Regions from separate parts of the Homo sapiens genome. Here all the other regions are linked to region 1. The links are contacts of gene promoters, found by promoter capture Hi-C in blood cells and fetal thymus (Javierre and others, 2016). All regions are on one chromosome and are shown on one strand. The core of a region is centred on a gene start or on the middle of the fragment in contact, and the rest is flanking DNA. Distances in the headings are between cores, read along the strand shown. Region 1 holds the start of FLCN (folliculin). Region 2 holds the start of LINC02090 (long intergenic non-protein coding RNA 2090). Region 3 overlaps MPRIP (myosin phosphatase Rho interacting protein).

Evidence for each region. The method cuts DNA at HindIII sites, captures the fragments that hold promoters and counts their contacts. A CHiCAGO score of 5 or more calls a contact.
Region 2: the fragment with the promoter of LINC02090 here is called in contact with the fragment with the promoter of FLCN in region 1 in 16 of 17 cell types (naive B cells, endothelial precursors, total B cells and 13 more); the score reaches 12.5 in naive B cells.
Region 3: a contact is called between a fragment that was not itself captured here and the fragment with the promoter of FLCN in region 1, in 1 of 17 cell types (non-activated CD4 T cells). The highest score is 5.2, in non-activated CD4 T cells.

The regions. Positions count from the first base shown.
Region 1 is chr17:17,235,624-17,239,213 of GRCh38, reverse strand. FLCN (folliculin) reads left to right here and starts at 2,046. Exons shown (of 14, transcript NM_144997.7): 1 at 2,046-2,302. RefSeq lists a silencer at 1,100-1,285 and an enhancer at 1,720-1,829. The HindIII fragment of the contact is 3,806 bases long and covers 1-3,390 here.
Region 2 is chr17:16,986,805-16,990,394 of GRCh38, reverse strand. It overlaps LINC02090 (long intergenic non-protein coding RNA 2090), which reads right to left and starts at 2,066. Exons shown (of 3, transcript NR_146886.1): 1 at 1,872-2,066; 2 at 1,345-1,480; 3 at 219-286. RefSeq lists enhancers at 1,724-1,943, 2,576-3,406. The HindIII fragment of the contact is 6,040 bases long and covers 1-3,044 here.
Region 3 is chr17:17,095,035-17,098,624 of GRCh38, reverse strand. All of the region lies in intron 3 of MPRIP (myosin phosphatase Rho interacting protein), which reads right to left. Among named protein-coding and RNA genes, the nearest start is that of MPRIP, 54 kb to the right of the region's middle. RefSeq lists an enhancer at 2,351-2,937. The HindIII fragment of the contact is 1,986 bases long and covers 767-2,752 here.

The DNA.
Region 1 (3,590 bases), core at 797-3,296:
TGGAAATAAGGATAATCTGAGCAAGGTGGTGAACTCCACTAACAAACTGAAAAAGGTAATTCCTGGAATTAAAGTTACAAGGTGAAAAAAACCTTGTTCTTGACTTAAAAATCTCATTAACAAACATTAGTTTCAAGAACTTGAACCCGGGAGGTGGAGGTAGCAGTGAGCCGAGATCGCGCCACTGCACTCCAGCCTGGGAGACATAGCAAGACTCCGTCTCTAAAATAAAATAAAATAAAATCACCCTGTAACTTACTACCTCCTCAGAAATTAAGTTTGCGCTGTCCAACAGCAAGAGGAATTCGCTTGATAAGAATAATTAAACACATAAAGGCAATGCCTAACCTCGTAACGCCACCCCATATTCCTTAATCTTTACCAAGCCACTATAAGACGGCAGAAAACACAAGCTGCACTTTCGTTCTTTTCTCGTGTCCCGTTTTCAACAGACCATGGATTTTTTTTTTTTTTTTTAGATGGAGTCTCGCTCTGTGCCAGGCTGGAGTGCAGTGGCACGATCTCAGCTCACTGCAACCTCTGCCTCCCGGGTTTAAGCAATTCTCCTGCCTCAGCCACCAGAGTAGCTGGGACTACAGGCGTGTGCCACCACGCCCAGCTAATTTTTTTTGTATTCTTAGTAGAGAGGGGGTTTCACCTGTTGGCCAGGATGGTCTCCATCTCTTTACCTCGTAATCCGCCCACCTCGGCCTCCCAAAGTGTTGGGATATTATAGGCGTGAGCCACCGCGCCCGACCAGAACATGGAAATTTAAAGAGAAAAAAATAAGTGACTTCTGATTTCAAAAACACAACCACCCACTTTTCTATTCTATTCCTGGTGAGCACATTCTGGAGACTCTGCGGCAACCATAGCCTCGGCCGCGGCGGAAGGCTCCGGGGCGGCCACACCTCAGGGGGCAGCCACACCTCAGGGGGCAGCGCGCACAGGCGGGTCAGGCTCTGATTCCCATCTCTCTCCGGTCTTCACTGGAAGGACCCACACTACATCACAAACTAATGGCTTTACAATTAACTTCTAAGTAGCTAAATTTAGTAATGGGCGCTCTAGTTTTAAAAAATATTATTCAGGCCGGGCGCGGTGGCTCACGCCTGTAATCCCAGCACTTTGGGAGGCCGAGGCTGGTGGATCACCTGAGGTTAGGAGTTCAAGACCAGCCTGGCCAAAAGGGTGAAAACCCGTCTCTGCAAAAATACAAAAAATTAGCCAGGCGTGGTGGCGGACGCCTGTAGTCCCCAGCTACTCGGGAGGCTGAGGCAGGAGAATCGCTTGAACCCGGGAAGCGGAGGTTGCAGTAAGGCGAGGTCGCGCCACTGGACTCCAGCCTGGGCAACAAGAGCGAAAGCGAAACTCTGTCTCAAAAAAAGAATATTATTCAAAAACTGATTTTCACATTTTTAAAAAAGACCCACTGAGGGAGGAAGACCGAATCCCACACATGCGCGCGCACAGCGGTTCCGAGTTCTGCAACCAACCTCCCACGGGCGCCGCGCCTTCTCCGCGTCACGTGACGGCCGTCTCCCGCACCTTCCATACTCTCAATGTAGGGAGAGGACGGGTTCCATCAGCAATTTAATAAAAACCATTGGTGAAGCAAAAAAAAAAAGCCTGCCAACCTCTTATAACGTTTTTTCTTTATTTTTCTCTTTTATGTGGACAGGAAGCCTTAGGTTGGCTATATTTACCCTCAAATCTCTTTTTAAAATGATTTTTAAGTTTCAGCATACTCCCGCGCTTAATGAAATGGTTTCCCCCAGCATCCCCAGCTGGTGCGGTCTGAACCATTCGGAACTTCCCAGAGGGGGGCACCGGAATAGGGGCGGTGGAAAAGGGTAATTGTCGGGCAGCGGCCCCTGCTTCCCAGTCAGACCTCGGAGTTGTAGGACTCGGACTGTGTTCCTGGGCTTGCGAGAGCTAGGGAGGCCCGGCTCTCCTCGCGGTGCAGGACGCGCTCGGACGGCTCCCGCACCCCCACCGCAGTGTTGGGTGGTGGTACGGCTCAGGGAGTCACGCGCCTGGGTGTCGGCGGGGCTGCGGGACCGCGAGTGAGTGTGGTCGCTCCTGGTTCTGCCAGCTCCCCTGAGAGCCTGAACCCGGGCTTGAGAGCCTCGCCACCCCGGGTGACATCCCTGCCGTGGGCTTGGGGGCTCTGGGTGTGATTCCGCCGGTCCGGGTCCCGCAGCGACCACCTACCCAGCGCAGTCAGGGGCGGGGCTGGGACCCAGAGCGGGACCCCGGCTGCCGAGTCCAGGTGTCCCGCGGGCCTCGATTTGGGGAGCAGGTAGGCGGGGGTCTGAGGGGTTGGCGGAGGGGCATGTCCGAGTTTTCGTTGGTCCCAGGTGGACGAGTAATGGGGGAGGGTTTAGGGCCAGAGTCCAGGGCGTCGCCGAGACCCTGAGATTTGAAGATAGGTTGGGGGCACGCCCATTAACCAAGTCTATGGGGATGAGGACTGTGATCTCATTTGATGTTGCCATGAAACGGGACTGTTTGCCTTCCCTTCTCCCAGGTTTTGTCTTCGCTCTGTTTGGAGGAGAGGGTGTGTGTCATCCTCTTCTCCCAGTTTGGCGTTCAGGAGGGTCCTCTGATGCGCTAATAGGGTAGCACCGTGTCCTCCAGGGAGGGTGGAAGACCGCGCTTCTCTCCAGTTGAGAGTACTGTCAGTCGCGTCCTTGTCTCCTGGAAAGAATGGATTGGCTTGTGGATTGAAGTCCAAGGTGTGGTCACTAGCAGTCTCTTCAAGTGGGGACACAGGGCAAGGAGGAGCTTGCTGGAAGTAGGTTCTGGCTCTCTAGCCTTTGGCCACAGCCAGTTTAGTGCCAGATTATCACCGTGGTCATCAAGTAATTGAGTAATAGTGGCAGGTGACACTGCGTTTGCCCTTCTAGTGTCCTATGTCAGGGAGCTCTGTGAATGGAAATCCAGGGAAACGGTGGAAATAGAGCCACAGTGAGAGTGGATCTGAACTGGCAGTCATCCCCTGCAGAACTTTTCACCCTGGGCTTGTTGGGATCCCAGCTGCTAACTTAATGAGGCTCCCCAGTGGGAGACTAGTTATAGAAGCTGTGTGTCCACTGCTGGTTAAGATCCGTTATAGTGCTTTGTTTATTTAGAGTGCCCTTACTTAGTGGCCTCTTTAATTCTCCACGGTGCTATGAGAACACCATAGGAAGTAGGGTTGAAATAGGGCCAGGGCGCACCACGGGTGGTGGTGAGGTCACTGTCCAGGTCTGGGACTCAGCCATTGTGGGAGGGGGACATGAACAGACACTCTACCACATCAGGGAATTTGAATACTGTCTTTGGATATGTTGATGAAGAGACTGTCAGCCAGGGCATTTCGGCTTCCTATGTGGGTTCTGGAAAGCTTGTTGGAAACAGACTCGTGAGACACACTCAAACCAGTTTGTTTTCTTCAGCAAACACCTGGTAGAGATTGGAATTGAACAGTGAGTGAAGAATGACCTCACGCTGCCCAGAATTCTGATTCCATGTGTAATGCGAATTCTGAGAGGCCTCTGTTTCTCAGCTTTTGGGTGGTATTCAGAGAGGTCTAGTAACACTTGGTG
Region 2 (3,590 bases), core at 817-3,316, 250 kb after region 1:
TGAGAGAGTGCCTCTGAGCAGGGAGGTTCCCTGAAGACCTTTCTGCAGCTGGGCACCCGCCCCTGGGCACCTGTCCCTGGATACCCTTCCCTGACATGTTGACCATGTTGACCAAAGTGAGATTGGGCTTCGCCCTCCTGGCAGCTCCATCACCATGGCCAGTTTTGGCTCAGTGCCTGTGATGGAACTTTCTGGGATGGTTGGAGGCGGTCTGCATCCATGCTGTCCAGAAGGCAGCCACAAAGCACAAGTGCACTGCTGAGCACCTGAAATGTACCTGATGGGGCTGAGAAGCAAGATTTTAAGTTTAAATCTCCACAAGACACTAGCAGCCACTTGTAGCATGCGAGCTGCATGAACGGATTCTGCCGCATGGCTCCTCCTTGGCTTTAGCCAGGTAGCACTCAGGTCAGCGCTACCCATCAGGGCCTTGCCTCATTGACTTCTGCCATGCCCAAAACCAGCTGTTTGGTCTGGGCCACACAGAGGCCCCACGGCTGACTCACCACACCCCTCATCCTGAGTGAGCGGTCAGCAGATCTTTCCTTTCCACTGAGAACGTGAGTTTCAGCGTGCACAGGAGTCTTGGTCTTGGCTGCCCAGTTAGTCACGTGGCCGCCCTAAACATCTGCTCCTCCTGTGCCAGGAGTGGAAGGAGCAGCTCAAAACCAAGCCCCATGCCACAGCAGGTGGGCCCACCTGAGATTAGCACCTCCCTTTCCACCAGGAGCCAAGAATACCCAGGTTGCTCATTTGAACCCATATGGTGAAGTTTCTCTCTCTCTCTTACTCTCTCGCTCTCGCTCTTGCTCTCTCTCTCTCTGTAATTTATTCTGTAATTTCGGTTTTCAAAAACAAAACCCTTCCATAGTACAAAGTTCTCAGACTGGGTGCTGTCTCCAGTGAGTTCCTTGTAAAACAAATACGTGTTGCTTGTGGTTGTACAAGTTGCACAGCTACGCCAGGAGGAAGTAGACAGCTGTGAACGAGCTGGGGCCACACCTGCTTTGTGGTGGGGCTGTCCCTTGCATCCTAGGATGGTTGGGAACATCCCTGGCCTCTACCCCCAGATGCCAGTAGCAATCCCTCCCACCCCCATCATTGAGACACCCCAGATGTCCCCAGCATGGCCACATGTCTCCTGACAGTGAAGGCAGAAGCACTTTGGTTGAGAACCGCTGGTGCAGAGCAGAAATGGCCTGATGAGAAGAGGGATGAGAGGCTGAGGTGCCTGCAGTCTCCCCTCTGTGTGTCTCCAATCCACTTTTGTGTTTTACATATGTAGGGAGGCATTATGAACAATGTCTAGTGCTATGTTGGGGTCCGTGTTTAAAATGTACTTACGTGCAGCTGTGCTCTGCCCTGCCTGTCCGCGCTCGTTGCTGTGTGGCTTGTGTCTTTGACCTGTTCTGTGATGCTCCATTACAAGAGCACATTGCATCACATTCATCCCTTTCCCGGTTACTATATCAGGCAGGACCTGGGCAGGAAACAGTGGTGCGGTCAACATGAAAAAGAGCTGAATGGACAGACTTTAGCAAAGCGTAGGCAGGGCTGACAAAAACAGTGCCACGTTGTCTTCCTGGGGTTCATGGTTTCAGATGCTGCTGCAGGGACTGTCTCTGCTCATGGCTCCTAGTGTCCATGTGCAGAAGCATCTCCAAAGGCCCTTGCAAGGGGACTCACTGGGGCCAGGTTATCCACAAACACCGTGATACTCAAAATCTAGTTTTACCCTAAGGAGGTAGGGGATGACTCTTTGGATCTAGAAGTGAAGGCACCTCCTAAGGGAATTTATCCTGAGTCACCTCCTCCTGGCAACTCACCCAAGGACTCCCCATGGGGCTTCCTCACACAGAGATATCCCCTACCATAGGAAAAAGACTCCTGGGTCCGGCCTCAGCTCCCTCTCGTTGGCTGTGCCTGTGTTTCTCACTCATCTGGCCAACCCACAGAAGTGGGTGGAGCCGGGTCTGTGCTGGGCTCTGGGGAGCATCTGACGAGTCACTGCAGAAGCAGCACTTTCTGCAGGAAGAACAGAAGTGTCTGCCTGTCTCTCACTTCCTTTTTGGGGCCTGGGAGGGTTGGCCTGTGAGTGGCCAGCTGCTATTTATGGGGCTCGACTGCTCTGTGTGAAACCCCAGTCTCTCTCGAGAGGGAAGAGTAGTGGGAAAGGGTGGTGCCAGGTGACATTGCCCCTGGTCTGGGGTACAATCAGCCCAGGTGCAGCGGTCACAACGTCAGAGTAGGGGGTGTAGCTCAGGGGTAGAGCATTTGACTGCACAACGTCAGAGTGAAACCCATCTAGGTCAGGATGGACGTGATGGGTTTCCTAACAAATCAACTCTGTGTTCCTTGTATTTGTAGACGCTCAGTGTATAGAGTGGGCTTTTAGTTGGGTGACCACATTCCAACCCCCCTGATTTGGACAGAAGGGGAAACTGAGGCCCACAGAGGCTAAGTGCCTAGTCTGAGGTCACATGCTGAGCTTGGGACATCAAGAGGACTAGAGTCCATAGTCTGGACTCTCATTCTAGTGCTCTGCCTTTTCATGGGGGTGGCAGGGTCACCCGTTTGGCGCAAAATTAAGCTGAGTTTCAAAGGCCACTGAGCATCTTCCCCAGCCCCAGCCATTCTCAGGGTCCTGGGAGGAGGACAACTGTCTCCTGTATTGTCTTGAACCCCTGGTGGATGGGCGGGGCAGGGGGTAGGAAGGGGCAGAGAAGGGGCTGTCCAGATGTGACACATCTGGAGTCTCCACATCTGCCCCAGGGGTGATGAACAGAGCTGCCCTCTCCCGCCTGTTCATGGTGGCCTTCGGTCATCTTTAGTTTTGTACCACCCGGGTTGCTTTTGGGTGTGCCTTGTGACCTGTTCTCGCTGGAATGAAATGGCCTGTGCATTCCTCCCTTCCTCCTCCTCCCTCTCCACCTCCCTCCCTCCCTCCTCCCCCATACGTGTACTGAGCCCATACTCTGTGCCCCTTGCCTTTGAGATGAATGGCCGGGGCTGTCCTAACTGAGGAGGCAAGATTTGGGCAAGCTTCCTGGGAGGCAAGCAGTCACCCAAGCACACATCTGGGCAGAGAGCATTCCAGGCAGCGGAACAGCACAGAGGGGAAGTTGTCAGCATTGGCCTGGTGTGAGCAGGGGAGAGTGGCAGAGGGCTCAGGGAGAGAAGGCCCAGGTTCAAGGCCCAGGGCCATTATAAAGATCCAGTGTTTAGTCAGAGCAGCTGGGGAGTGGCAGAGGTTCCTGGGCAGTGGAGGGCTCAGCTGTGGCTCAGGTGCTAACAGAGTACATGGCACCTGGGGGTGGGGGGGCCTCTGAGAAGGGGCTGGTAGGGGGTGGCTTGAAGCAGGCCTGAAGGTGGTAAGTGCTCAGATGATTTTGGTCATATTTTGAACGTAAAGCCAACAGTGTTTGCTAATGGATTGGTGGAAGGGAAGGAGACAGGGAGAGAAAGAGAAGTCAAGGATGACTCCGGGTACTTAGGGCCTGTCTTAGTTTTAGACCCAACCTCACAATTCTGGTGGGCATTGCCCTAATGGGGGCTATCCCTCTGTGGCATTCTTTGAATTCAAGGGGAGG
Region 3 (3,590 bases), core at 510-3,009, 140 kb after region 1:
TGCTCTTTTCCCCTTCCTTCTTTCTCCTGGATTCCCTCCTCCGAGTGTGGGCCTGCACCGATGCCACGCCAGCCCTCCGGACCCGACAAAGGCAGCCCTACCCTTTCAACTCTGGAAACTCAGCCTTTCGTATTTATTCCGTTCTAATCCTGTCAAGAGAGGGAGATCTCATTTCCTCCCCTAGCCGAGGGTCGGGGGAGAGAAGTGGGCTCTGTGGGGACAGGCCTGGGTGGGAAGAGGCTTGCAGATATTTTTAGAGACATGGGAATTAGGCAGGCAGGGGCCTTCTGGAGCTGGAAACAATTCCAGTCCCAATTCCAAAAGGCCAAATGGGTGGTGGAGAGTGAGGGGCCTTGGAGGTGGAGTGGGCAGGCGCAGGTTCTGGGGAAAGAGGTTGAGGCTGAGCGCTGAGCTCCCTGGAGCTGCTTTACCTTTCTTCCTGCTGCCAGCGGTTTCCTCGCTTATCAAAAGGTGCGTGAATGCCACTACTTGGCATTGGAACCCTGGTGCCTGGCCCCAGCAGGACACCCCCAGCAGCCCACTCTTGGCAGAAGCAGCGCAGGGAGGCAACATGGCAGGTGGATGAAGGCCCATCACCCCCAGCTTCCTTTGCTGCTGGCTCTGGTTTGATAGCAGAAGAATGACACAGGATCTAAAATAAGATTTTTTCAATTATCTGCAGGCTTCCAATGGGTCAGGCTACCTCGGTTCTCAAAGACCACAAACTTAGTCTTAAACATCTGTGTGGTGCCTCACTCAAAAAGCTTCTCTCAATAGCCTCTGGAAAAGTCAGACAAATCTGGGGGTAGGATGTGGAGAAAGGAAAATTGAAAGGAAAGTGAGAGACCCTGGGTGCCTCCTGCTGCTGTTGGGAGTGAGCCAGTTCTGGACAGAGGTAACTATCAGCTGTCTCAAACATGCTTGCACCTCTGCACTGGCAACATTACTTCCAGGAATGTTCTCTGAAGCATCATATTAAAAAAGTAAAAATCTGAAAACAACTTGGATGTCCGAAAGTACAGAATAAAGGAATCAAATACAGCCACCCAATGGAATGGGGTGTAGCTATTAAAGACCATGCATAGAAGGATAGGAAAGGAATTGTGAGATAGAATTTGTTTTGTTTTTTTAAGAGACAGGGTCTCCCTCTGTCACTCAGGCTGGAGTGCAGTAGTGCAATCCTAGCTCACCGCAGCCTGGAACCCCTGGCTTCAAGCGATCCGCCCACCTTGGCCTACCACAGTGTTGGGATTACAGGCATGAACCACCATGCCTGGCCAGAATATTCTTATTAAAAATAACTGGTTTATTTAAAAATTATTGTTTTTAGGTCTTACATAAGCACATAAATACACATCATAAGAGAATAGATACATAACCACAATATGAACCGATTTTTACCTCCGTGTGGGGTTTAATAGGCAATTTTGCTGCATGATTTTGTTTCCCCAAATTTTCACCATGAACTGATTTTACTTCTGACATTAGGTGGGGGAATCACTGCTTCTTCAGCCCCTCTGCTTTGGCTGATCCTGCCTTTTGCATGTGACACTCCCTTCCTGCTCCACACCCCAGAATGTTCCTAGATTGTTCTTCCCCAGGGAGTTGCAAGGCTGCCAGCCTGGCTACGATAGCCGGGCAGGCACGTGTGCCTGTCTCAGTGCTTATGCTCCCTGCGATGGCTGGCCCCTTGGTCTTCCCAGCAGCCGACGAGATTCTAGAAGACAAGGATGCTTTTTCATATTTATTTTCCACCTCTGAGCCCCTCTGAGGCACACAGCAAGGCAGCAATGGGTGAATGAATCCAAGCTCCCTTGTGGTTTCCCCAGGCCCCAAGGAGAGTCACTGGGAAGACATCTGGAGTGAGGAAAAGGAAAATATATTAGTGCTCTGAGGCCCTGGGTAAGGACAGGGCTGAGCCCCAGATCTGCCTGATGGTATTGCTCAAGGCAGCCGGAGTATCAGCTGTGGAACCTGCCCAGTCAACAACAAGGGTCTTATTGTTAGTCCCAGGTAGGTGATTGGGCCCCATCAGTAAATGGCCTTATTCACCAGAGGGAAATGAGATAAACTGTCTCCTCTCCCTCCAACCTTTCTGGAACAACAGTCATCATTAACCCTTGGGTTTCCAACCAGAAGAATCTGGAATTTCAACTATTTATGAAAGTATCTTTTCCTCATAAAATTTTCTCCAAGGTACTGGAGCAAATTATAGATGGTACATTTAATGCAGGATGCCAACACACACAGGTCCCCTGGCAGGCATGTGCATTGACTCTGAGACACACACACACACACACACACACACACACACACACACACACACACACACACACCCTGCACACACACACACCCTGCCAAGCACAAAGAGCTACACAGGCCCAGACCAACAATATGACCCACACAGGGGACAGTGTGGGAAAGGACAGGGAACAGTGGCATGGAAACAGGTGGGTACAAGGCAGGCACGATATGCCCATGATGGACACCAACACGTGTCGACAGGCTGCGGGCCAGTTCCTGACACACAGAGGGGCCTCCAGTTAAACACAGGTGACTTAACACACCAGAATGTTCAATTGCCTGCTAAAACCCTAATTAATATGACCATAAAGTGTGTGTGGGGGGGAGGTATAAACTCTCAAGGATGAAAAGCTGGAGAGGAGACAAGAGCAGATATAAGATATCAAGTAAACTTTGAGTGGGAAGTGGCTGGATACATGGAAAGTGGCCTGGTGGCATGGAAGAAGCTTCCTGAGGACAGCTAGGAGGAGGCAGGCTGGCACTGCTGCAGACACCAGAAAGCTCAGGGCCTGGGGGCAGAGGGGACTCCAACAGCAGGGGCAGGGCTGAGAGCAGGAGAACTGATCAGCACCCGTACAAGGGCAGGCAGATCCCAGGGCTTGGCTCTGGCCAGAGAATCCTATATACTGACCAGCACGGAGGGTTGCCCTAGGAGGGCCCCTAGAGTCAGGGGCAGCAGGCACAGCTGAGGGGGCAGGGGAAGTAGGGGTGAAGGACTAACAGCAGGAAAAGTCCAAGAAAGTCTGCATCCTAAAAGTTGAGTCCCTCATCCCAAGCCCTTCTGCTGCCCACAGGTCTTCCTAGATTGGAGATGAGAGAATTCCTATCAGGGGAAACCAACAAGCCCAAGAGAAAGACCTCCTAAAACTGTCATTCTCCATGTAATGGAGACGAGAGGGCTCGTACGTGCGGACATTCTAGGGTCTCTCCCAAAACAAACTGGTGCCCTGCCTGCCTGTCCTTCTAAGGCAAAGCCTGCCAGTCGATATTCCTACACGCACCCCATATACACACACAGCCTCCTTCTGAAGGGTCGCCACTCATTCGAGAAAGCCCAAGACCATAACAAACAGAAAGGGAACTAGGAGAATGAAAGTCAGACCAGAGACAGAATACAACTTCAAAATAACTGAAATGATTAGAGAAAGTACTGCACCCATGAAACACAAACAGGATGCTACAAAAGAGGACACACGGAAAACAAAAAACAAGCTCTAAGAAATTAACAATTCAATAGGTGGAATCAGACCCCAACAGAAGGGTTAGAAGGCAAGGTTAATGTGATC